Regions from separate parts of the Homo sapiens genome. Here region 1 is linked to region 2. The links are contacts of gene promoters, found by promoter capture Hi-C in human tissues and cell types (Jung and others, 2019). All regions are on one chromosome and are shown on one strand. Each heading gives the region's core, a stretch centred on a gene start or on the middle of the fragment in contact. The rest is flanking DNA. Distances are from core to core; before and after follow the strand shown. Region 1 overlaps CHFR (checkpoint with forkhead and ring finger domains). Region 2 holds the start of PGAM5 (PGAM family member 5, mitochondrial serine/threonine protein phosphatase).

The links. The method cuts DNA at HindIII sites, captures the fragments that hold promoters and counts their contacts. A contact is called where the count stands out against the background at its distance.
Region 1: a contact is called between a fragment that was not itself captured here and the fragment with the promoter of PGAM5 in region 2, in 1 of the 25 tissues and cell types used here (H1 embryonic stem cells).

Annotation. Positions count from the first base shown.
Region 1 is chr12:132,876,395-132,881,521 of GRCh38, forward strand. It overlaps CHFR (checkpoint with forkhead and ring finger domains), which reads right to left. Exons shown (of 18, transcript NM_001161346.2): 3 at 1,161-1,260. Among named protein-coding and RNA genes, the nearest start is that of CHFR, 8.6 kb to the right of the region's middle. The HindIII fragment of the contact is 8,676 bases long and covers 1-5,127 here.
Region 2 is chr12:132,708,603-132,713,620 of GRCh38, forward strand. PGAM5 (PGAM family member 5, mitochondrial serine/threonine protein phosphatase) reads left to right here and starts at 2,240. Exons shown (of 6, transcript NM_001170543.2): 1 at 2,240-2,465. The coding sequence starts at 2,275. LOC124903063 (a long non-coding RNA gene) reads right to left here and starts at 1,993. Exons shown (of 2, transcript XR_007063551.1): 1 at 1,892-1,993. RefSeq lists an enhancer at 1,757-1,806 and silencers at 1,977-2,436, 2,647-2,756. The HindIII fragment of the contact is 20,255 bases long and covers 1-5,018 here.

The DNA.
Region 1 (5,127 bases), core at 1,949-4,448, 170 kb after region 2:
TACTCACTGGAACATTTCAGAATTTTGATTCAGACATGCTCAACTGGTAAGTATAATGAAAATATTCTAAAATCTGAAACAATCCAAAATCTAAACAGTCTAGTTTCAATCATTTCAGATACTCAATCTGTACTTCAGTTGTACAAGAACGAGAATTTATTAGTTTTAAAAAATGATTTTTTGATTTGAGGGAAAGAAATCAAACTTGAATAGGCTTGCAAGAACCAAAAATTACCAGCATCTTTTAAGTCTTATTTCTGAGACATACTTAATTTGAATACATTCAAGAAGGGTCATAGACACCAAAGTGTCACTAAGTGTCCCATCCTGGAAACCAGGAAATACATCTTCTAATACCTTGGGAGCCTAATTAACTACAGTCATGCCCCAGATAATAAACTTTTGTTTCGTTTTGTTTTGAGATGGAGTTTCACTCGTTTCCCAGGCTGGAGTGCAGTGGTGCCATCTCAGCTCACCACAATCTCCGACTCCCGGGTTCAAGTGATTCTCCTGTCTCAGCCTCCCGAGTAGCTGGGATTACAGGCGCATGCCACAACGCCCGGCTAATTTTTATATTTTTAAGAGAGACAGGGTTTCTCCATGTTGGCCAGGCTGGGCTTGAGCTCCTGACCTCAGGTGATCCAACTGCCTCAGCCTCCCAAAGTGCTGGGATTACAGGTGTGAGCCACCGCGCCCGGGCTGATAATAATGTTTTTTTCAACAGACGCATATACGATAGGAGTCCCACAAGATTAAAATATCATATTTTTACTGCACCTGTTCTGTGTTTAGATAAATACTCTTACCATTGTGTTACAACTGCCTATAGCATTCAGTACAGTAGCACGCTGTATAGGTTGATAGCCTAGGAGCAATCGGCTATACCATATAGCCTAGGTATGTAGTAGGCTACACCATCTAGGTTTGTTTAAGTATACTCCATGATGTTTGCAAGATGATCAAATTGTCTGACACATTTCTCAGACTGGATCCCTGTTGCTAAGGGACACATGACTGTGCTGTTATAAAAATGAGCCGCTGTTATCACACTAAAGACAGCATTTCTTCTCCTCCTCAGCCGTGGCACACAGCACAGAGCACGAAGTCAGGCTTCTTAAGCTACAAGAAGAAACACCAAAAGAAGCTCAGAACATACTCACCTGGTATCTTCCAGTGTCACCTGACCTGATTTTTCATCCACTACAATTCTACAGTGATCTCCAGAGACCAGTTTATTGCTGGGGAAGGAAAGGTCGCAACCTAAAAAAGAGAGGGTGGGTCAACACGGGATATGATCGTGGTAACTGTGAACACTACTGCACTTTGTTTACCAAAGTATGTGGTTCCAACTCAGGATCCCCATTGTACATATGTAAAAAAAAACACTTGACCAAGAAAGACATAAAGAAATTTTTTTTTTTTTCTTGAGACGGAGTCTCGCTCTGTCGCCCAGGCTGGAGTGCAGTGGCACCATCTCGGCTCACTGCAAGCTCCGCCTCCCAGGTTCACACCATTCTCCTGCCTCAGCCTCCAGAGTAGCTGGGACTGCAGGCGCCCGCCATCACGCCTGGCTAATTTTTTGTGTTTTTAGTAGAGACGGGGTTTCACCATGTTAGCCAGGATGGTCTCGATCTTTTGACCTCATGATCTGCCCACCTTGGCCTCCCAAAGTGCTGAGATTACAGGCGTGAGCCACCGCGCCCGGCCCATCCTGAACCTTTCTGAATCCCCACCCTCTCAAAGACACCCATCAATACCTCCAGTTACACACAGCCTCTTAAATGGCAATTTTACAGCCAGGCGCAGTGGCTCATACTTGTAAACCCAGCACTTTGAGAAGCTGAGGTGAATGGATCACGAGGTCAGGAGTTCGAGACCAGCCTGGCCAACACAGTGAAACCCCATATCTACTAAAAATACAAAAATTAGCTGGGCATGGTGGCGGTTGCCTATAATCCCAGCTACTTGGGAGGCTGAGGCAGGAGAATCGCATGAACCCAGGAGGCAGAGGTTGCAGTGAGCTGAGATCGCGCCACTGCACTCCAGCCTTGGCGACAGAGCTAGACTCCAACTGGAAATAAAAAAAAAAAAAAGCAATTTTACAATATGCTTGCATACACAGCTAACCTGATGAGTATTATTAGAACTTTAAAAAAACTCAGGGGGTTGGCTAGGTCCGGTGGCTCACACCGAGGCGGGCAGATCACAAGGTCAGGAGATCGAGACCATCCTGGCTAACACAGTGAAACCCCATCTCTACTAAAAATACAAAAAATTAGCCGGGCGTGGTGGCGGGCGCCTTGTAATCCCAGCTACTCAGGAGGATGAGGCAGGAGAATGGCGAGAACCCGGGAGGAGGAGCTTGCAGTGAGCCGATATGGCGCCACTGCACTCCAGCCTGGGTGACAGAGCAAGACTCTGTCTCAAAAAAAAAAAAAGAAAAAAAAAAACTCAGGGGCTTAAGTAATTCTTCAGTATCTTAATTTAGTCCTTAATTTCTTTTCTGTGTAAACTTAGGTTTCATAAATCAACATAAAATTGAAGCAATGACAGTCACAGAAAAAGTGACTGAGCCAACTGTGATAGGCATTTGTTTTTTTTTTTGTTTTTGTTTGTTTTTTTTTTTTTGAGATGGAGTCTCGCACTGTCGCCCAGGCTGGAGTGCAGTGGCACCATCTCGGCTCACCACAACCTCCACCTCCCAGGTTCAAGCCATTCTCCTGCCTCAGCCTCCTGAGCAGCTGGGACTACAGGCATGCGCCACCATACCCAGCTAATTTTTTGTATTTTTAGTAGAGACGGGGTTTCACCATGCTGGTCTTGAACTCCTGACCTCTTGATCCACCCGCCTCAGCCTCCCAAAGTGTTGGGATTACAGGCTTGAGCCACCGCACCTGGCCTGCGATAGGCATTTGTACACGTATAAGAAACTGCATCTTATATACAGGGATGCATCTATAGCTGAATACAGTAATTCTGACACTTTGGGATTTTTTTTTTCTTTTTTTTTTTTTGAGACGGAGTCTCTTTCTGTGGCCCAGGCTGGAGTGCAGTGGCACGATCTCAGCTCACTGCAACCTCTGCCTCCCGGGTTCAAGCGATTCTCCTGCCTCAGCCTCCTGAGTAGCTGGGATTACAGGCGCACACCACCAGGGCCAGTTAATTTTTGTATTTTTAGTAGAGATGAGGTTTCACAATGTTGGCCAGGATGGTCTCGATCTCTTGACCTCGTGATATGCCCGCCTCGGCTTCTCAAAGTGCTGGGATTACAGGCGTGAGCCACCAGCGCCCGGCCCTGAATACAAAAGCAAGAGGGAAAATCCTCAATACTTGCCCTCTCCTTAAATCAAAAGAACAAAGGCGTTTTAATATCTCATCATTAATCATTACTGCCTATAATAATCTATAAGGATACATAAAGATACTAGAAGACAAAAAAGCGAAGGGTTTGGTCAGGAGACAGTGGCATGCAAACATACTTTTCCTAAACGTTCCACACAGAAAGACACCCTGAATCTGCTTTAGCCTGAGCCTTGCTCCCATCACTGACCTATGGGTGTGTGAATCAGAAGACTCAGTATTGTTAAAATGTCAGCTGTCCTCCAGATTGTTTCATACATTCAATGCAATTCCAGTCAAAATCCCAGAGGGCTTGTAGACACTGACAAGCTGATTCTAAAGTTCACAGAAAAAACGTGTAGAAAAACCAAAGCAATTTTGAAAAAGAATGAAGCTGGAAGACTCATATTACTTAACTGACTTACCATCATGCTATAGTAAACAATACAGTATTGTGGCTGTGTAAGGATGGCCAGACAGAGACAAATGTAAAATCTAAAACTATGAAACTTCCAGTGGAAAAGACAGGCAAAAATCTTAGTGCCGTTGGGTCTTGCATGGACTTCGCAGATAGGATATAAAAAGCACAAACCAGGAAAAAATAATAATAATAAGCTGAGGTTTGTCAAAAGTAAAATGTGGGCCAGGTGCCGTGGCTCACACCTGTAATCCCAGCACTTTGGGAGGCCAAGGGGGGGGCGGATCACAAGGTCAGGAGATCGAGACCATCCTGGCTAACATGGTGAAACCACGTCTCTACCAAAACTACAAAAAATTAGCTGGGCGTGATGGCGGGCGCCTGTAGTCCCAGCTACTCAGGAGGCTGAGGCAGAAGAATGGCGTGAACCCAGGAGGTGGAGCTTGCAGTGAGCCAAGATGGTGCCACTGCACTCCAGCCTGGGCAACAGAGCAAGACTCCGACTCAAAAAAAGAAAAAAAAAGTCAATTCTGGGCCAGGCGTGGTGGCTCACACCTGTAATCTCAGCACGTTGGGAGGCCGAGGCGGGCGGATCACAAGGTCAGGAGTTCAAGACCAGCCTGACCAACATGGTGAAACCCAGTCTCTACTAAAAATACAAAACTTAGCCAGGCATGGTGGCGGGCGCCTATAATCCCAGCTACACGGGAGGCTAAGGCAGGAGAATGGTGGGAACCCAGGAAGCGGAGGTTACAGTGAGCCGAGATCACGCCACTGCACTCCAGCCTGGGCGACAGAGCGAGACTCTGGCTCAACAACAACAAAAAAAGTAAGGCTGGGGGCGGTGGTTCACGCCTATAATCCCATCACTTTGGGTGGCCAAGGCGGGCGGATCACTTCAGACCAGGACTTCGAGACCAGCCTGGCCAACAGGATGAGACCCCATCTCGACTAAAAATACAAAAAATTAGCCGGGCATGGTAGCATGCACCTGTAATCCCAGCTACTTGAGAGGCTGAGGTGGGAGAACATGGGAGGTGGAGGTTGCAGTGAGCTGAGATCGTGCCACTGCACTCCAGCCTGGCAACAGAGCGAGACTCCATCTCAAAAAAAAAAAAAAGTAAAAATCTGTTCTTCAAAGATATTGTTTAAAAAGATGAAAAGACAAGCTATGGACTGGTGGAAATATTTGTAAAACACATATCTGACAAAGATCTTGTATCCAGAATGTATAGAGAACTCTGATAACTCAATAAATAGAAAGTAAATAATGCAACTTAAAACAATTTAAACACTTTATCAAAGAAGAGATATGGATGGCAAATTAAGCACATGACAAAATGCTCAACATCATTAATCTTCAGAGAAAT
Region 2 (5,018 bases), core at 990-3,489:
TGTCATTTCTTCTTATGGATTCAACTATGTCCTTGTGGATTTTCCCTTGTTTTTTATTTTATTTTTTGAGATGGAGTCTTGCTCTGTCACCCAGGCTGGAGTGCAGTAGTGTGATCTCAGCTCACTGCAGCTTCTGCCTCCTGGATTCCAGCGATTCTCCTGCCTCAGCCTCCTGGGTAGCTGGGATTACAGGTATGTACCAGCTAATTTTTGTATTTTTAGTAGAGATGGGGTTTCACCATGTTGGCCAGGCTGGTCTCAAACTCCTGATCTCAGGTGATCTGCCCGCCTCGGCCTCCCAAAGTGCTGGGATTACAGGCATGAGCCACTGAGCCTGGCTGATTTTCTTTTTTTTGAGACAGAGTCTCTGTCACCCAGGCTGGAGTGCAGTGGCACCATCCTGGCTCACTGCAACCTCTGCCTCCCAGGTTCAAGCGATTATCCGGCCTTAGGCTCTCGAGTAGCAGGGACTACAGGCGCGCACCACCACGCCAGGCTTTTTTGTATTTCAGTAAAGACGGGGTTTCACCATGTTGGTCAGGCTGGTCTTGATCTCCTAACCTCGTGATCCGCCCACCTCAGCCTCCCAAAGTGCTGGGATTACAGGCGTGAGGCACTGCGCCCGGCCCAATTTTCCTTTATTTTTTTGAGACAGAGTCTCGCTCTGTCGCCCAGTCTGGAGTGCAGTGGCGCGATCTCGGCTCACTGCAAGCTCCGCCTCCCGGGTTCACGGCATTCTCCTGCCTCAGCCTCCCTAGTAGCTGGGACTACAAGCACCCGCCACCATGCCCTATTTTTTTTTTTTTTTTTTGTATTATTAGTAGAGACGGGTTTTCACCGTGTTAGCCAGGATGGTCTCGAGCTCCTGACCTCGTGATCCGCTCACCTAGGCCTCCCAAAGTGCTGGGATTACAGGCGTGAGCCACCACGCCCGGCCTTCCTTTTATTTTTATTTTTTAAATCTTCCTATCATTTTTAGTAAATGACCTGGAAGCAGCAGACCCAACTGGAAGCGTACAGGTTCAAGAAAGCCTGTTTAAGCAGAAGTCTCAGTATTTCTGTGGAACCATTCAGTTTTTTTATTTTTATTTTTTTGAGACATTGTTTCACTCTGTTGCCCAGGCTGGAGTGCAGTGAGGCAATCTCAGCTCACTGCAACCTCCGCTTCCTGGGTTCAAGCAACTCTCCTGCCTCAGCCTCCTGAGTAGCTGGTATTACAGGCTGGAGCCACCGTGCCCGGCTAATTTTTGTATTTTTAGTAGAGACCGGGTTTCACCATGTTGGCCAGGCTGGTCTCAAACTTCTGACCTCAGGTGATCCGCCTGTCTCGGCTTCCCAAAGTGTTGTGATTACACGCGTGAGCCACCGAGCCCAGGCCCAAGTGATTTTTAAATAGCTTAAATCAGATCATGTCATTTCCCAATTTTAAAATGGGCAGAGATGGTCCAGCAATCCCACTTCTGGGTACAGACGCAAAACAATCAATGAAAGAGAGATCTGCACGCAGCACTGTTCACGCTAGCGAGGAGATGGCAACAGGGCAAGCGTCCAGCAATGGGTAAGCGGTGGGGTCGGTGCACGCAGGCGTCCAGCAATGGGTAAGCGGTGGGGTCGGTCCACCCAGGGAGCGCTGGTCCCCCTGGAAGGAAACCCAGGCTCTAACGCGGTCCCTCTGAGGACCCTGCTAGGCGAAACGCGCCGGCCATAGAAAGACTGTCCCGCAGGAGAGGGCGGTGTTCGGCCCGGGGTTTGAGGGGTCGGGACCAGGAGGAGGGACAGCCCGGCCGAACCTGAACGCACTTCAGGCCGCTTGAACAGCACACGCAGGAACTGCGCCGACGGAAAACTTTACTTCGTGTTCCGCCACCAAAAAAATATCGTTTAAACAAACCTGCGGCAGCTTCCCAGCTCCCTTAAACCAGGATCCCAAGTTCTCCGCGTCTCCGCCCCTGCACCCAGCCTCCGGCCTCGGCAGGCGCTTCCGGTGCGGAACCTTCTGGAAAGTACCGCGCCGCCCTCCCGGCGTCCCCACAACCCCGCCCGCACCTGCGCGCACCGGCGCTCGCGAGCACAAGTGACGGGACTGGAGCGTGGCGCGGCAGGTGGCTCCACGAAAACGCCCCTTCGCGCAAGGCTGCCCCGCGTCCTGCCGCGCCCCAGGAGGCGGGACTTCCGCCCCCGCCGCCCGGAAGCGGCAGCCGGGGGAAGCGTGTTCCTCGCGGAGCGCCGTCGGGGCCGTGGGCGCCTGCGCGGGCCGGCGCGGGAGCAAGCGGCATGGCGTTCCGGCAGGCGCTGCAGCTGGCGGCCTGCGGGCTGGCCGGGGGCTCGGCCGCCGTGCTCTTCTCGGCCGTGGCGGTAGGGAAGCCGCGCGCAGGCGGGGACGCGGAGCCACGCCCGGCTGAGCCGCCGGCCTGGGCGGGGGGCGCGCGGCCGGGCCCCGGTGTCTGGGACCCCAACTGGGACAGGTGCGCGCGGGGCTGTTTGGGGCCGGGGTCGGGATGGGGGTCAGGGCAGGTGTTACCGTTGGGATCGAGATCGGGACCAGGTTTAAGGTTGCGATCGGGTCGGGATCTGGGGTCGCCGTCTGCTTTCCCCAGCGGAGGAGCCGCTTTCCGGGGCCGCTCTGCGCGGAGGGTTCCGGGGGCGGCTGACCCTTCCCGCCGGCTTCTGTGGCCGAGCTCCGTCGCGTCCTCGCCCTTCTCCCCGCCCCTGCGAGTCCGCCCTGGGTGCCATCGCCGGAGCGCGGGCCGGGGCGAGGCTGAGGTGGAAGCCGGGCCTCCTTCAGGGGCGTTTGCAGGAGCGCGCCCGCGAGCTGCGTGCGGTTATTGAGCGTTTGAAATATGGCTCGTGTGATTCCTGAAGGGAATGCTTAGTTTACGTCAATTTAAACTTAACGCAAGCAGGGCCGGGTGCGGTAGCTCAGGCCTGTAATCCCAGCGTTTGGGAGGCTGAGGCCGGAGGATCGCTTGAGAAATTTGAAACCAGCCTGGGCAACATAGTGAGACCCCCATCTCTACAAAAAATACAAAAAAAATTGGCCGAGCGAGGTGGCGCGCGCCTGTGGTCCCAGCTACTCGGGAGGCTGAGGTAGGAGGATCCCTTGAGTCCAGGGGTCCCAGGCTGCACAGTGTGAGCCGAGATCCCGCCACTTCACTCCAGCCTGAGCAACAGAGCCTGTCTCAAAGGAAAAAAAAAAAAAGTAGTGCAGGTTTTTAACATTAGTTATGTGTTGAAATAGTATTTTTAGCATATTGAATTAAAAGTATGATCGAAATTCACCTGTTTCTTTTTAATGTTGCTATTAGAAAATGTATAATTTCACATGTTGCTGGCATTCTGTTTCTGTCGGCCAGGACTGCTCTAGCGGCAAGGATGGTTTTCCCAGTCCTAACTCCTCATTATACTCAGTACTTTGAGAAAGGGGGCACAGAATTATACTACTGTGGTTGCGTTAGGTACTTTATATTAGATTTTTATCTTTTGTTAACCTTATTTCCTCTATTATTAGCATCATACACTAAGCATGGTGTATATATCAAAATTAATGAGCCAAAATAATATAGATTAATTATAGTTATTATATTAGTTTATAATACATTACTGTTAACTAAGGTTCATGTTTCATTGAGATTTCCTCAGCTTTTACCTGCTGTTCTGTTCTAGGGTCCCACATGACAAGTAGTCTTCATGCCTCCGTAGGCATGTTTTGGCTGTGACAATTTCTCAGACTTGTTTTGATGATCATGAGTGTTTGAGGCGTCCTGGTCAGGGGTTTGGTAGAAGGTCCCTCAATTGAGACTTCTCTGAAGGTTTTCTCATGATTAGACTGGAGTTACATTCTTTTTCCTTCTTTTCTTTTTTCTTTTTCCTTGAGACGGAGTTTCGCTCTTGTTGCCCAGGCTGGAGTGCAATGGTGCAATCTCGGCTCACTGCAACCTCCGCCTCCCGGGTTCAAGCAATTCTCCTGCCTCAGCCTCCCGAGTAGCTGGGATTACAGGCACGCGCCATTATGCCCAGCTAATTTTGTATTTTTAGTAGAGACGGGGTTTCTCCATGTCGGTCAGGCTGGTCTTGAACTCCCAACCTTAGGTGATCCTCCCACCTCGGCCTCCCAAAGTGCTGGGATTACAGGCATGAGCCACCATGCCCAGCCTGTTATATTCTTTTTTAAAAATCAGAATTCTGAAAAATCAGAAATTCTGAATCAATATTCTGAATTTCTTAGGTCTTTTTAAGGAAACAGATTTACTCTGCCGTTAAAGAACTTGAAGTAGGCTGGGTGCGGTGGCTCACACCTGTAATCCCAGCATTTTGAGAGGCTGAGGTGGGCGGATCACTTGAGGTCAGGAGTTCGAGACCAGCCTGACCAACACGGTGACACTCTGTATTTACTAAAAATACAAAAAAATTAGCCAGGCATGGTGGCATGCACCTGTAGTCCTAGCTACTTGGGAGGCTGAGGCAGGACAATCACTTGAGCCCAGGAGGTGGAGGCTGCAGTGAGCCCAGATCGTGCCACTGCACTCCAGCCTGGGTGATAGAGTGAAACTCTGTCTCAAAAAAGAAAAAAAAGAACTTGAAGTAGAACCGGGAGCTGAGCCCAGCCTTTCTCTTTTAAGCAGGTGTTCTGTATTTGCTTGTCATGTCTGGGGAGAAGTGAATTGGGCCTTGTGGGTTGGGAAAGACTTATACAGACAGAAGGCATGAGCAACTACAGGAAGGTGCTAGAAGACAGCATGTTTCTTCTTGAGTCTCACCTGTCCACACTTGAAAGTTCCAGAGCCTCATCTGGTGAAATCTCCAGCTTCTTCCTGGAGGTCTCATGCAGTTTACGGCTTCCTGTCTCTGTGCCTATAGCTCCCAAATATTTTCTCTGGCTCAGCCTGACTCCCCCATACCTGCCAATTTGAGTCTTGGCCTGGTTTATGACAGGCCCCCAGGTCGGCGTGGCCCAAACGGAGCCCTTGAGTCACCACCGTGCCCTTCCACAGCTTCCTTTTCCGCCACTGTCTCAGCGA